5 separate regions of the Homo sapiens genome follow, and regions 1, 2, 3 and 4 are each linked to region 5. Evidence: promoter capture Hi-C in 16 types of primary human blood cells and fetal thymus (Javierre and others, 2016). All regions are on one chromosome and are shown on one strand. Each heading gives the region's core, a stretch centred on a gene start or on the middle of the fragment in contact. The rest is flanking DNA. Distances are from core to core; before and after follow the strand shown. Region 1 holds the start of BICD2 (BICD cargo adaptor 2). Region 2 has its middle 26 kb from the start of IPPK. Region 3 overlaps IPPK (inositol-pentakisphosphate 2-kinase). Region 4 has its middle 25 kb from the start of BICD2. Region 5 holds the start of SPTLC1 (serine palmitoyltransferase long chain base subunit 1).

Evidence for each region. Contacts are between HindIII fragments. The CHiCAGO score rates a contact against its expected background, and 5 or more counts as called.
Region 1: the fragment with the promoter of BICD2 here is called in contact with the fragment with the promoter of SPTLC1 in region 5 in 1 of 17 cell types (naive CD8 T cells); the score reaches 6.3 in naive CD8 T cells.
Region 2: a fragment that was not itself captured here is called in contact with the fragment with the promoter of SPTLC1 in region 5 in 1 of 17 cell types (naive CD8 T cells); the score reaches 5.2 in naive CD8 T cells.
Region 3: a fragment that was not itself captured here is called in contact with the fragment with the promoter of SPTLC1 in region 5 in 3 of 17 cell types (fetal thymus, naive CD4 T cells and activated CD4 T cells); the score reaches 5.9 in fetal thymus.
Region 4: a contact is called between a fragment that was not itself captured here and the fragment with the promoter of SPTLC1 in region 5, in 7 of 17 cell types (total CD8 T cells, naive CD4 T cells, naive CD8 T cells and 4 more). The highest score is 9.2, in total CD8 T cells.

What each region holds. Positions count from the first base shown.
Region 1 is chr9:92,763,581-92,766,280 of GRCh38, forward strand. BICD2 (BICD cargo adaptor 2) reads right to left here and starts at 1,253. Exons shown (of 7, transcript NM_001003800.2): 1 at 925-1,253. The coding sequence starts at 1,164. RefSeq lists a silencer at 1,204-1,943. The HindIII fragment of the contact is 10,857 bases long and covers 1-2,700 here.
Region 2 is chr9:92,695,092-92,697,822 of GRCh38, forward strand. No RefSeq gene overlaps it. Among named protein-coding and RNA genes, the nearest start is that of IPPK, 26 kb to the left of the region's middle. The HindIII fragment of the contact is 2,525 bases long and covers 162-2,686 here.
Region 3 is chr9:92,658,028-92,660,792 of GRCh38, forward strand. IPPK (inositol-pentakisphosphate 2-kinase) reads right to left here. Exons shown (of 13, transcript NM_022755.6): 2 at 607-654. Among named protein-coding and RNA genes, the nearest start is that of IPPK, 11 kb to the right of the region's middle. The HindIII fragment of the contact is 2,093 bases long and covers 312-2,404 here.
Region 4 is chr9:92,787,951-92,790,740 of GRCh38, forward strand. No RefSeq gene overlaps it. Among named protein-coding and RNA genes, the nearest start is that of BICD2, 25 kb to the left of the region's middle. The HindIII fragment of the contact is 159 bases long and covers 1,306-1,464 here.
Region 5 is chr9:92,113,999-92,116,715 of GRCh38, forward strand. SPTLC1 (serine palmitoyltransferase long chain base subunit 1) reads right to left here and starts at 1,415. Exons shown (of 15, transcript NM_006415.4): 1 at 1,316-1,415. The coding sequence starts at 1,372. RefSeq lists an enhancer at 1,918-1,977. The HindIII fragment of the contact is 11,716 bases long and covers 1-2,717 here.

The sequences.
Region 1 (2,700 bases), core at 3-2,502, 650 kb after region 5:
GCAATTCCTGCAAACAACGCTATGGAGTCAGGGAACGGGAGAAGAGAAGCTGGGGAAGGACTGTCCAAGACTCCCGCTGCCCTGCCGCCTGGAGACCCTCGACCAGCCTGGTGGTCTAACCTACTCTCCCCCCAGTGGGAATGACACAGACCACTGAGGTCTCCGTCCAAGAGGAACACAGCAAGCCACAGCGAGGGGAAGGGCCCGAGAAGCGGGGCTGGACAGGAAGTGGGCCAGGGAAGTCATGCTAGCTGGTGGGAGCGCAATCCCGGCCATGAGGACACAGCGCTGGGCCTGGGGCAAGGGTACTGGGGGACCCATGCCAGGGGCAACCTCCACGTGCAACCCCGAGCCCCTACTCACTTAGGCCGCTGTCCACGACCTTTCCCCACCTCGGAGGCACTCATGAAAGAAGCAGAAACGCTCCGAAAGTAGCTGCGCCCAGAGAGGGGAAGTGCTTTCTCTGAAGGTGACAGAGCCGCAGCCACCCAGACCCAGGCCCACCCTCGGCCTCTCCCAGCGGGTCACCAGCATCCGTGGCCTCAGCTCCCGGCTCAGCCACTGCCCTCCCAACCCCACCCCACACTCAGACACACCCGGAACAGCGACCACCGCAAAGCATCAGCCCTTACGAAGCCCCGCCCCGCCGGGGCCGCCCAGGTCCGCACAGAAGCAGGCGGGCAGCTGCAGGAGGCGACAAGGCGCCCGGACCCCTGCATTAGCGGCGTCTGCAACGGCCGCGGCACCGGCCTGCTAGCCAAGGCCGGGCCCACTCCCACATACTGCCCGTGCCCCCTCCGCCCCGGCGGCCCACCCCTGCCGGCCCCCGCTTGGCAAGCTGACCTTGGCCGCCCTGGTGCCAGGGACGACGCCCACAGGCCCCGGCGCCGGGCGGGGGTCGCAGGGCAGGGCGGCTCGGCTCACCTCCTTGAGCTGCTCCATCTCGCTGCGGATAGCCTCATAGTCCACCTCGAGCTCCTCGAACTGCAGCTTGAGCTGGTGCTTCTCCTCGAGCACCGCCAGCCCGTACTCGGCCGCCTGGATCTTCTCACGCGTGGTCTCGGCCAGCTCGTGGGACAGCCGCTTCACCTCGGCGCGCAGCCACTCCGGCTGCGCCTCCATCACCAGCCGCGCGTACTCCTCCTCCTCCGACGGCGCCGACATGGTGGCCGAGGGCTGAGCCGGCTCCCACTGAGGCTCTCGCAGGCCGGGCCCTCCTCAGCCGCCGCCGCTGCCGCCGCCGCCGCCGCCCTGCCCCGACGGCCGCCCGCCCGCCCGCGCCGCCGCACGGCTCCTCCCCTCCGGCGCGCGGGGCCCGCTGGGGGCTGGAGTCCTGCCTGCGCTCCGACCACAAGGTCCATCATGCCCGGCGCCCGCCCGGCCCCCGGCTATGATTGGCCCATGCTCTGTGAGGGGCGGGCCCTCGGGCGCAGCCACTGACGCCAATGTGGCCCAGGGGGCTGTGGGGACAGTAGTCCCGCTAGCGCACCGACTACAAAACCCGTCCAGCCCCGCGCCCACCCGTCCCCGTCCGTGATTGGCCTGCGCCGCCAGCGTCGAGCCGGATGTACCGGCGCCTTGCAGTCCCCTGGACGGCGGTCGAGTGGGCGCGGCCCCGCGGCCTTCCCCACACTCAGAGCCGGGGACACTGCTCGGTCGCCGGGCCTCGCGCTCCCCTGTGCCTCTGGCAGCCGGCGGCCACGCGGGGTGGCAAGACGGCTGCCGGGAGAACCCCCAGGGGGAGGCGGGTGCGGGGCGGCAGGACTGGGCTCCCGACCGTGGGACGAACAACGCGGACAGAGCCCGGGAGGCCACGAGCTAGAAGCGCATCCGAGAGCGCGGGTGAACGGCTGCTGCTGGAAACCCGTGGACGGTGTGACGCATGCTCTGTGCAGACGTCTGGGGGCGGGAGGAGGACGGGCCAGCAGGGGGCGCCCAGGGGCCAGCGGGAACCTCAGCACCGCCCCTCAGTCCTTCAAGGTCTATTTCTTGGGAATAAAGACATTTCCATTAATACAGGGTCATAAACGTGGTAAATATAATTGTTGTCTCCGCATCTATTTTTAGGCCTGACTTAAGTTGTTTGAAAGCCAGTCGTACCCTTCGCCTTGGCGTAGGTAACACTTCTCCGTATATGGTGGTGTGTGAGATAACTCGTTTATTCTTTATCTCATTGACCTAAAGCGCAACACACCCCACAGCCGCTGACCGCCATAGCACCTAATGGCCAGTATCAGTGCAGATGAGTTCACCCTTCCCTCGTATTTTCTTTAGCCAGTCCACAGGCCCCAAGGGAAATCCTAAAGGATGATTTCCATGGACCCTAGCACAGCCATAGTCCCTTCCTTCCCACCGTCTCTCACTGCCCCTCTCCATCTGCTTGTCCGCCTCTCTTAGGCATCCCTAACCTCTCCGGAACCTAAGAATAATAAATTCCTTCTGTTTTGTACCTTTTAATTTTACTTTCTCATTGTATCTCACCTGAACCCCACACCCATTCGGTTCTCCTAGAGAGTGGCTATCTTGGCTTATGGTCACTCTCCCTCAAGACCAAATTAGAAAGAAGCCATGACAGCAGAAATCACAGCACACAGGGTACTGACACTATCTAATGCACAGTCCACACTCTAATTGCACGAGGGCCCAACACCATACTGGAGAGTTTCAGTATTGTTTTTGTGGTCCAGGATCCAGTTGCAT
Region 2 (2,731 bases), core at 174-2,673, 580 kb after region 5:
TTTGTGGAGGGCTTTTAACATGAAAGGATGTCGAATTTTTTCAAAAGCCTTTTCTGCATCTATTGAGATGATAATGGGGTTTTTGTTTTCAGTTCTGTTTATGTGAGAAATCACATTTATTTAATTGTATATGTTGAACCAACCTTGCATCCCAGGAATAAAGCTTACTTGGTCATAGTGGATTAGCTCTTAAATGTGCTGCTGGATTCAATTTGCTAGTGTTCTGCTGAGGATTTTTGCATCTAATTTTATCAGGGATATTAGCTTAAAGTTTTATTTTTTTCACCAGGTTTTGGTATCAGAATGATTCCGGCCTCATAGAATAAATCAGGGAGGAGGTCTGTCTCCTCAATTTTTTAGAATTGTTTCAGTAGGATTTGTACCAGCTATTCTTTACATGTCTGGTAGAATTCAGCTGTGAATCCATCTGGTCCAGGGCTTTTTCTGGTTGGTAGGTTTTTGTTGTTGTTGTTGTTGTTGTTACTATTGATTCAATTTTGGAACTTGTTATTGGTCTGTTCAAGTATTCAATTTCTTCCTGGTTCAATATTGGTAAGTTGAATGTTTACAGCAATTTATCCATTTCTTCTAGGTTTTCTAGTTTGTGTGCATAGAGATGTTCATAATACTTTCTGAGGGTTTCTTGTATTTCAGTGAGGCCAGTGGTAATGTCACCGTTGTCATTTCTGATTGTGTTTCTTTGGATCTTCTCTCTCTTTTTTTCTTTATCAGTCTAGCTAGAGGTCTATGAGTCTCATTTTTTTTTTCACCATAAACATATATCATTTTTATTTGACAATTAAAATAAGTTAATTAATTGATAATAATAATAAAATTGAGTATAGTAGCTCAGTCATTCACTCCTTGTACTTTTTGACTCTATCTTCTTCAGAGAGGACAAATTCAGCACTGTTCTTGGCTGTGAGATCAATAGCGCTCCACTGCAGGGAAGACCTATGGGTTACATGTCTGTCCACACCTGGGGTTTACTCTCTTTTTTTTTATTATACTTTAAGTTTTAGGGTACATGTGCACAACGTGCAGGTTAGTTACATATGTATACATGTGCCATGTTGGTGTGCTGCACCCATTAACTCGTTATTTAACATTAGGTATATCTCCTAATGCTATCCCTCCCCCCTCCCCCCACCCCACAACAGGCCCGGGTGTGTGATGTTCCCCTTCCTGTGTCCATGTGTTCTCATTGTTCAATTCCCACCTGTGAGTGAGAACATGCGGTGTTTGGTTTTTTGTCCTTGCGATAGTATTTCAAAGAACCAACTTTTGGTTTCATTGATCTTTTGTATGGGTTTTCACATGTCAACTTTGTTCAGTTCAGCTCTCATTTTAGTTATTTTTCTTCTGCTGGCTTTAGGGTTGGTTTGCTCTTGTTTTTCTAGTTCCTCTAAGTGTGATGTTAGGTTGTTAATTTGAGATCTTTCTGACTTTTTGATGTGGGTGCTCACAGCTATAAACTTTCCTCTTACCACTGCTTTAGCTGTGTCCCAGATATTCTGGTATGTTGCATCCTTGTTTTCAATAGTTTCAAAGAGTTTCTTGATTTCTGCTTTAATTTCATTCTTTACCCAAAGTCATTCAGGAGCCAGTGGTTTAATTTCCATATATGGTATTGAGAGATCTTCTTGTTTTTAATTTCTATTTTTATTGCACTGTGGTTGAGAGTGTGGTTGGTTTGTTTTTTTTTTAACTTGTTGAGAATTGCTTTATGGCTGAGTGTGCAGTCAATCTTAAGAGTATGTGCCATGTGTACATAAGAACAGAAAAACGTATATTCTGTTGTTGGGTGGAGCATTCTGTAGATGTCTGTCAGGTGCATTTGGTGAAGTGTTGAGTTTAGGTCCCAAATACCTTTATTAGTTTTCTGTCTCAATGTTCTGTCCAACACTGTCAGTAGGGTGTTGAAGTCCCCTACTATTATTATGTGGTTATTTAAGTCTCTTTGTAGGTCTCTAATAATTTGTTTTATGAATCTGGGTGCTCCAATTTGGGATGCATATATATTTAGGATAGTTGAATTGAACTCTTTATCATTAATGGAATGTCCTTCTTTGTCCTCTTTGAGCATTGTTGGTTTATATTTTGTCTGAAGTAAGAATAGTAACTCTTGTTCTTTTTCGTTTTCTCTTTGCTTCACAGATCTTTCTCCATTGCTTTACTTTGGGCTTATGAGTGTCATGCATATAAGATGGGTCTCTCTCTTTTTAAATTCTTTCACTATGTTGCCTAGGCTGGTCTTCAACTCTTGGGCTCAAGTGATCCTCCTGCTTTGTCCTCCTAAAGTGCTGGGATTAGAGATGTGAGCCACCACTCCTAGCCAAGAGATGGGTCTCTTGAAGACAGCATACAGTTGGGTCTTGCTTCTTTATCCAACTTGCCACTCTGTGCCTTTTAAGTGGGATGTTTTCTCATTTACATTCAAGGTTAATATTGATATGTGAGGATTTGATCCAGTCATGTTGTCAACTGGTTGTTACACAGACTTGATTGTATAGTTGCTTTATAGTGTCAGTGGACTATGTGTTTTTATGGTGGCAGGCAACAGTCTTTTGTTTTGTATTCCATATTTAGCACTCCCTTAAGGACCTCTTGTAAGGCAGTCTGGTAATAATGAATTTCCTTAGTGTTTGCTTGTGTAAAAAGGATTTTATTTATCCTTTGCTTATGAAGCTTAATTTAGCTGGATATGACATTCTTGGTTGGAATTTTGTTT
Region 3 (2,765 bases), core at 108-2,607, 540 kb after region 5:
GCATCAGATGGGGAGCAGAGAAGGGCCCTGAATGCAGGAAGCCTCCGCGACTCGGTATGCACCCCAGGACCAACAGAGATTTGCACAGAAAGCTGCAACTCAGTGGTCAAAAAAGAGAGGGCAATGCTTTTTCACGGGTGGTCCATGGCATTTTGCTTGGATGACTCAGAGAAGAGAAACCTAACGACCCCCTCCCACCACAATGTTTAACACAGACTGTCTACCACCACACTGGAGACTCTATTTTCATAGACACAATTCCACAGATGGGGAAACTGAGGCAGCAGGTGCTATGGAACTCGGCAACGCAAAGCTTGCCTGATCCTGGGGTCCTCGCCACAAGCAGGGCCCTCTGAGCAGGACCTACAGGCCAGGCCAGGGCAGCTCCTGGCTGAGCGCCACATAGACTACCACAGTGACACATGGGTTAACGTGCTGGACCCAGTCAGTTTTATATCAGGAATGATGGACACACCACTTTCTGCACTGAATGCTTGTATCATCTTTGAATGCTACAACTAGCATCAATGTTTCTACATCGGAAAAAAAAATCAGAGTTTTCTTAAATAATTGTTGTAAGTCTGGGTGCAAACCCACCCATCTTACCTTCTTCCTATTTGGAGGAAACTTCAGAAACCGCAGCACGACGCAGCGCTGTTGGAAAATAAAACAAATCTGATTAGTATTTGCTCAAAGCCAAGGCACAAGGTGTCAGTCAGTTTGGGGGTCCCATCCTCAGTGGACAAAGTCCACAGTGAAGCTCCACAGCAAGGAGGCTGGGAAGCCCCCAGGGCAGGGAGGCCAGGGCTGGGACCCAGCAAGGGCACACTGGGCAGTGGGACAACCAAGAACCTTCAGCCTCTGACCAGCCAGCCCCTCCCAGGACTTTATCTTAAGGAAAGAAATAAAATGGAAATAACCTAAATGCCCAACAATAATGAGATGGTTTAAACACAGTGGCACACATTTCAGTGTGATTTATAAATCACACAGTCAGTGATTTATAAGAAAGATCAGTACTTACGGACACAGATTTGTGGTTATCACATACTGTTAAATGAAAAAAGTTACCGAATGGGGCTTACAGAATGAGCCTATTTTCATAAAAAGAGAAATACACGTGAGCACACACACGTATGGGTGTAATTCTATTTATATAAAGTTCAAAAAACAGGTAACACTGACCCCTTGTGCCCACCCCTTGGGCATGCATGAATAGTTGCTAAGGAAGGTTCTAGAAGGGACTGGTCAGAGGATTATGGGTCCACTTACTTTGTGATAATTAAGCTATACCCACGATCTGAGTACTTTTCTGCAGGTACGTTACACTTCAAGTTTTTAAAATAAAAATGTTTAAATAAAATAAGTATTGATGTGTCTACATCAAAAGGTCTGAAAGGACATTCGGCACAAGTTTAACATCTCCAAGTAGCAATGATTACAATAACTTCTTTTTAATTTATCTTTATTTTGAATATTTCAATTTTTTAAATGTTCAAAAAAATACATTCTAAGAACGTACATTATATGTAGGAGGAGAATGCGCCTGGGAGGGGCTCTAACGGCAGTGCAAAGGTGGGGGGTCCAATGCCCTGGGAAGCGCCCCTGCCGAGGCCACAGGGCAAAGCCTAAGCAGGAGGGAGGAAGCAGGCTGCACTAAAGACGGCTTAGAAAGGGCCATTTTCTAGATCAAAAGATGCCTAAGGAGCAACAAAGGCCCTATGGAGACCAAGCCAGACTCCCCCACCCGCTCCCCGCAGCCCTACTTAGACAATGTACGTCGTTGCTCTTAAATCCCAGGCACCCGGCCCCCTGGGCCCCTCTGACTGAGCTCCAGTTCCCAGCCAATGCCATGCTCCTGGCTCGCTGTGCTGCAGATAGCTGTCCCCTCCTTAAGCCCCAAGCTGAGACCTGGGGAAGCCAAGATCAATGGCATGCATGCTACCGCTGTCCCCTCCCAAGCTGAAGGCAGGCATCAACAATCAATCATGGGAATCGACTGGCTAAGGATCATTTTAATGGAACTATAATTCCACCAAAATTTAAGGAAAGGCAGAAGTTGATCGACAGAAGTCCTAACTCTAGACAGCTCCCCAGAAGTTCGTTCCCCTAAAAGTGCATTTGCTCCTCACCTACACATGATGGTGTGTGCTATTCGAGTGTGCCTGACCCGCCCTCCAACAATTAGGCATCAAACACAGTACAGCTCTCCACTGATGGCAAGCATTCAGTGATGCCCTGCTAGCGATGTGTAAGTGTGACTGAGGGTCATGCTTGAAAATCAACACAATAAGAAAATACATTACATGAAATCCCTGATCAGTGTAAACTGACCCAGGCTGCCATGGTGCAAGCTCTCACCCTGTCCCTCACACAGGGCAAACCCCGCCACCCACAGGGGCCAAGCTTACTCACCTGCCAGACTGCATGCACAGAGCTCTGCGGCATCTACAGGAAAGCAAGGCCTGTCTCGGTTTATCATGGAACTAACTCATAAGCTGCACAATGGACTTTTGTAGCAAAGCAGTCCTGATCAGGGTGATGCCAGGCCAAGACACATGAGCTTTCTCTCCACAGAAATTCCCCACTGTAGCCTCAGAGGAAGGAGTTCAGTGGGCCCATGAACAGAAATACCAACTACAAGAACACAGGACCCCCCTCCCCTGGCAGCATTCACCTGCTAATACAGACTCAGCTTTCTGAAGTTCCCTGCCCCTCTGTTGCCAGGAAAGGCGGGAACAACTGGTCTTTTCTGTTTATTTATA
Region 4 (2,790 bases), core at 135-2,634, 670 kb after region 5:
GCACTTTGGGAGGCCGAGGCGGGCGTATCATGAGGTCAGGAGATCGAGACCATCCTGGCTAACATGGTGAAACCCCGTCTCTACTAAAAATACAAAAAAAAAAAAAAAAGAAAAAAAATTAGCCGGGCATGGTGGCGGGTGCCTAGTCCCAGCTACTCGGGAGACTGAGGCAGGAGAATGGCATGAACCCAGGAGGCAGAGCTTGCAGTGAGCCGAGATCGCGCCACTGCACTCCAGCCTGGGCGACAGGGTGAGACTCCATCTGAAAAAAAAAAAAAAAAAGTCTATTGAGATCTAACTCTGAGCACAGTTTAAAAGTTATTTACAGTTTAAAAAATCTGGCAGCTTTAACATTTTTGTTTAAATGCTTAAAAACAGCAAGAAGGGAGTATCTAATTAGGATTTGATGTATCTTAGTATAGGAAATAAATTGTGAGTATTCTTAGGTTGTACAGTTATCTTTCTACAGATTAATATGTCCCATTTTCAACACATAATGTTTATAAAAGAATTATAGGCCAGGCGTGGTGGCTCACGCCTGTAATCCCAGCATTTTGGGAGGCCAAGATGGGTGGATCACGAGGTCAAGAGATCAAGACCATCCTGGCCAACATGGTGAAACCCCGTCTCTACTAAACATACAAAAATTAGCCAGCGTGGTGTTGCATGCCTGTAATCCCAGCTAGTGGGGAGGCTGAGGCAGGAGAATTGCTTGAACCCAGGAGGCAGAGGTTGCAGTGAGCCGAAATCGTGCCACTGCACTCCAGCCTGGAGACAGAGCAAGACTCTGTCTCAAGAAAAATAAAATAAAATAAAATAAAATAAAATAAAATAAAATAAAAAAGAATTACAAATACATTCTGTAAGAGTGTGCACCTGCTTCCTGAGATGCACTTTTAAATGATTTCTAATTTTTAATATTTCCATAAGCATGTTTCATGTAATGCACATATGGCTGACCTCACAGAAGTGGCTGACACATTACAGATGGCTTTGAAGTGGATCATGGTGGGGAAAAGTAAGACTTCATGCTGTATTATTTTAAAAGTCCATATAGTATGCTCACTTTTAAGCTAAAATAAAATGTAATGTTTTTGTGTGGGTGTTAATATGTGTAGCTGAAATATGATCTATTTTTGAAGACCACAGATATTTACAAAGAAAAACTAAAAGGAGCAGTCTTTGTACCATTTTAGGATGGTAGGTAGTGCTCTCTCTGTCTACCAGTGACAAGATTTTAAAATCATTTTTAGATTTTATGAGTTAACTTTCCTGTCTAGATTTTGGAAAGTAGAGAGAAAGTGAAGCTTCTAGATGGAAAGAAGCTGTCAAGTGGGCCACTTGCTGAATACTGAAAACAATGAGAAGGTACCATGTGGGCTAACACAAAATTCAATTCAGACACTGAACATATTAATAGGAAATTTTAGCAGAACTTGTGAGAAAGACAGTGTCTAAGTTGAAAGCTTGCCTAGTCTTTTCATTAAAGCCACTGAATGGCCTTAATGTTTTAAGTAGAAACGGGAGGATCCCTCACCTTCACTACATGTCATTCCATCTCCCAAAATTCAGATGTAAGACAACTTTAGGAGTTTACGTTTTTCCTATTAAGTAATGAAGTAAACTGTTAAGAGTTAAAGTCATCTTAGAATTTAGGTTTCATACTGGACTTTGCTCTCTTCCCTTCTCAGTCCCAGCCAGTCGAATTTGGTCTTCTGGGGTCAACCCAAACCTAGGTCAGATGGTGTAAACATGTGTCATCAGTTGAGGCTGCTATAACAAAATACCACATGCTGCGCTTAAACAAAAGAAATTTACTCCCTTGCAGTTCTGGAGGATGGAAGTTCAAGATCAAGGTGCCAGCAAGGTCGGGTTCTGGTGAGGGCTCTCTGCTTGGCTTGTAGTGGCAGCTTTCTCACTGTGTCTTCACAATGGGTTGAGTGAGAGAGAGCTCGGGCACCAGCATGCTAGCTCTCAGGTGTGTCGCTCTTCTTATAAGGACACTAATCCCCTCGTTTAAAAAAAAATCATTATTTATTTATTTAGTGAGACAGAGTCTCACTCTGTGTCCCGCTGGAGTGCAGTGGCATGATCTCAGCTCACCGCAACCTATGCCTCCTTGGCTCAAGCAATTCTTGTGCCTCAGCCTCCCAAGTAGCTGGAATTACAGGTGTGCACCACCACACCTGGCTAATTTTTGTTTTCTGTTTTTTTTTTGATAGAGTCTCTCTCTGTTGCCCAGGCTGGAGCACAGTGGCATGATCTAGCCTCACTGCAAGCTCCACCTCTGGGGTTCACACCACACTCCTGCCTCAGCCTCCCGAGTAGCTAGGACTACAGGTGCCTGCCACCATGCCCGACTAATTTTTTTGTATTTTTAGTAGAGATGGGGTTTCACTGTGTTAGCCAGGATGGTCTTGATCTCCTGACCTCTTGGTCCACCCACCTGGGCCTCCCAAAGTGCTGGGATTACAGGCTTGAGCCACTGTGCCCGGCCTGTATTTTTAGTAAAGACGGGATTTTGCCATGTTGGCCAGGCTGGTCTCAAACTCCTGGCCTCAAGTGATCCACCCACCTCTGTCTCCCAAAGTGCTGGGATTACAGGTGTGAACCTCCACATCATCATTAAGGCCCTACTCTCACGATCTCAATGGTTGATGGGTTGATGTAATTAAGGTGAAAATATGGAAGAAAATAGGAATTTTGAATGGACTTTATGTGAAGTGGTTGCACCTCCTTTACCTGAATGTGTTAACAGGATGGGTATTATGTCCGACTGGGGAACAGGTC
Region 5 (2,717 bases), core at 165-2,664:
TGTGGTAGCTCATGCCTGTAATCCCAGCACTTTGGGAGGCCAAAGCAGGAGGATTACTTGAGGCCAGGAGTTCGAGGCCAGGCTGGGCAACACAGCAAGCCCCCGTCTCTATTAAAAAAAAAAAAAGATTAGTTGGGCATGGTGGTATGTGGTCCCAGCTACTCGGGAGTCTGAGGTGGGAGGATCGCTTGAGTCTGGGAGGTCAACGCAGCAGTGAGCTGATCGCACCACTGCACTCTAGCCTGGGCGACAGAGTGAAACCCTGTCTTTAAAAAATAAAATAAAATAAAATAAGTTCTTCAGTGCCCAATGAATAGCTCTGCAAGACAGCACGGGGACTCTCAGTTATTAAATGAATGAACACTAAGATTGACATTCTGGTTTCTTATTATCTTATGTATCTGAAATAACTAGGCTTCAAAAAACTCTTAACTATTCTTCCTTTAAAAGTCTACGGCCAGGTGCAGTGGCTCAAGCCTATAATCCCAGCACTTTGGGAGGCCAAGGCGGGCGGATCACCTGAGGTCGGGAGTTCGAGACCAGCCTGACCAACATGCAGAAACCCCGTCTCTAATAAAAATACAAAATTGGCCGGGCATGGTGGCACATGCCTGTAATCTCAGCTACCTGGGAAGCTGAGGCAGGAGAATCGCTTAAACCCGGGAGGCGGAGGTTGTAGTGAGCCGAGATCACGCCCTTGCACTCCAGCTTGAGCAACAAGTGCGAAACACCGTCTCAAAAAAAAAAAACAAAAATAAATAAATAAAAATCGACTAAACTAGTTGTATCTTTATAAGACAGAAAACTGATGTACGCAGAAGAATGACAAACTATTTTTTATTCACAAATCCTAAGTCACTTGATTTCTTTTCGACAAAAACAAACTCCAATTTATTACAATTTTATTCCCCAACGAACTGTACCGTAGTTCCAAAGAGCTGACTTCCTTAGGACCTTCCCAGACGAAGGTGTTCCACTCATTTTCACCACTCCGTTTTATCGTCCGTCTAAACTCTGGTTTTTGCAGACCTGTCTCCTGCGTCCCCTTACACGTGTTCCTTTCCGGAGCTTCCAGGGGACCCGGAGCATAAGAATTCAAACCGAGACCCTCAGTCCCAGCCCCCGCCCCCGCCCGTTCCTCCCTACACTCAACCGCTGGGACTAGAAGCTCCCGGCAGTCCTTCCAGCAAGAGGCACCGAGTCTGGGCGTGACCGAGCCAGTCCCGCCGAGGTCTCAGGCCACAAATCCACACGCGTCCTCCCACCCTCCCCGGGCCCGGGTGTGGTCGCGGACCGCTAATGGCGCGGAGCCCACCTCGTAAAGCGCCTGTACCATCTCCACCAGAACCCACTGCTCCGTGGCGGTCGCCATAGTTAGCCGCTTCCTTCCGGAAGGCGGGTCACAAGCGCGTCCCAAAAGTGCGCGTCGCTGCTCAGTGTCGTTATCACCTCCGCAGAGGGCGGGGCGGCGGAGCGCTGGGCACCGCCTACTCGCACTTGCGCACTGGTTGACAGGAGGCTGGACGGGGTCAGGTGGGATGCCGCAGTTTTTCCAAGAATTGTTTACCTTGTGTCCTATTACCCTCCCTGCTGGATTCAGGATGGAGAAAGTAGTAATGAACGGGCCTTACACTTGGTCATCAGCTGGGCGCAGAGAGTTAAAATGATTGCAATACGTTTACTTTATTTTTTTTTTTTTGAGACGGAGTTTCGCTTTTGTTGCCCAGGCTGTAGTGCAATGGCGTGATCTCGGTTCACCGCAACCTCCGCCTCCCGGGTTCAAGCGATTCTCCTGCCCCAGCCTCCCGAGTAGCCGGGATTACAGGCGTGGGCTACCACGCCTGGCTAATTTTGTATTTTTAGTAGAGACGGGGTTTCTCCATGTTGGTCAGGCTGGTCTCAAACTCCTGACCTCAGGTGATCCGCCTGCCTCGGCCTCCCAAAGTGCTGGGATTAGAGGCGTGAGCCACCGCGCCTGGCCAATACGTTTACGTTTAGTAGCATAAGTAATCCAGCAATGCATTATCATTAAGAAATGCATAATTATACACAAAAATAGCCAACCCATATAGCACTTCCTGTTTTGTCAGACATAGGCCAAGGCTTTGCAGGTATTAAATCATATAGCAGTTTGGTAAAGAACCTTTTAGAGCCTTCCAATGCATATGCAAACAGTATGCACGCGCACATACTTAATTGGATTGGATTTCTTAAATATAATTGAGATCATAGGGACAAGACTTTTCTACAACTTTTTTTAAATTTTTTTTCTAGCATTTTTTTCCTAATATATCTCATATTTAATGGCTGAAGACTTCCATGGAATAATTTATGTATATTCATCGTTCCATTTTATGTAAACGTTTCCCTATTGGTGAATACTTATGTTGTTCCCACCTTTCCCCTATTACAAATAATGCTGCCATAACTGTCGATGTTCCTTGTGTGTATATCTTTCTGTGCATGTTGGAGTTTTTCTGACCAGTTTTTTCAACATGGGATATATCTGAAGACTATGCACGTTATTAATTTTGATAAGTACTGCCAAAATGGCTCAACCAATTAAAATAATTTGGAAGTTTTTCTATGCTCTAGTCCATGATGGATATTATCAATCTTTTAAAAAAATTTGCCAGTTTAATGGAGATAAAATGATACCTCACTATCCTTTATTATTGATGCTTCTGGTTACTCATGAGGTTGTGCAGCTTCTTATA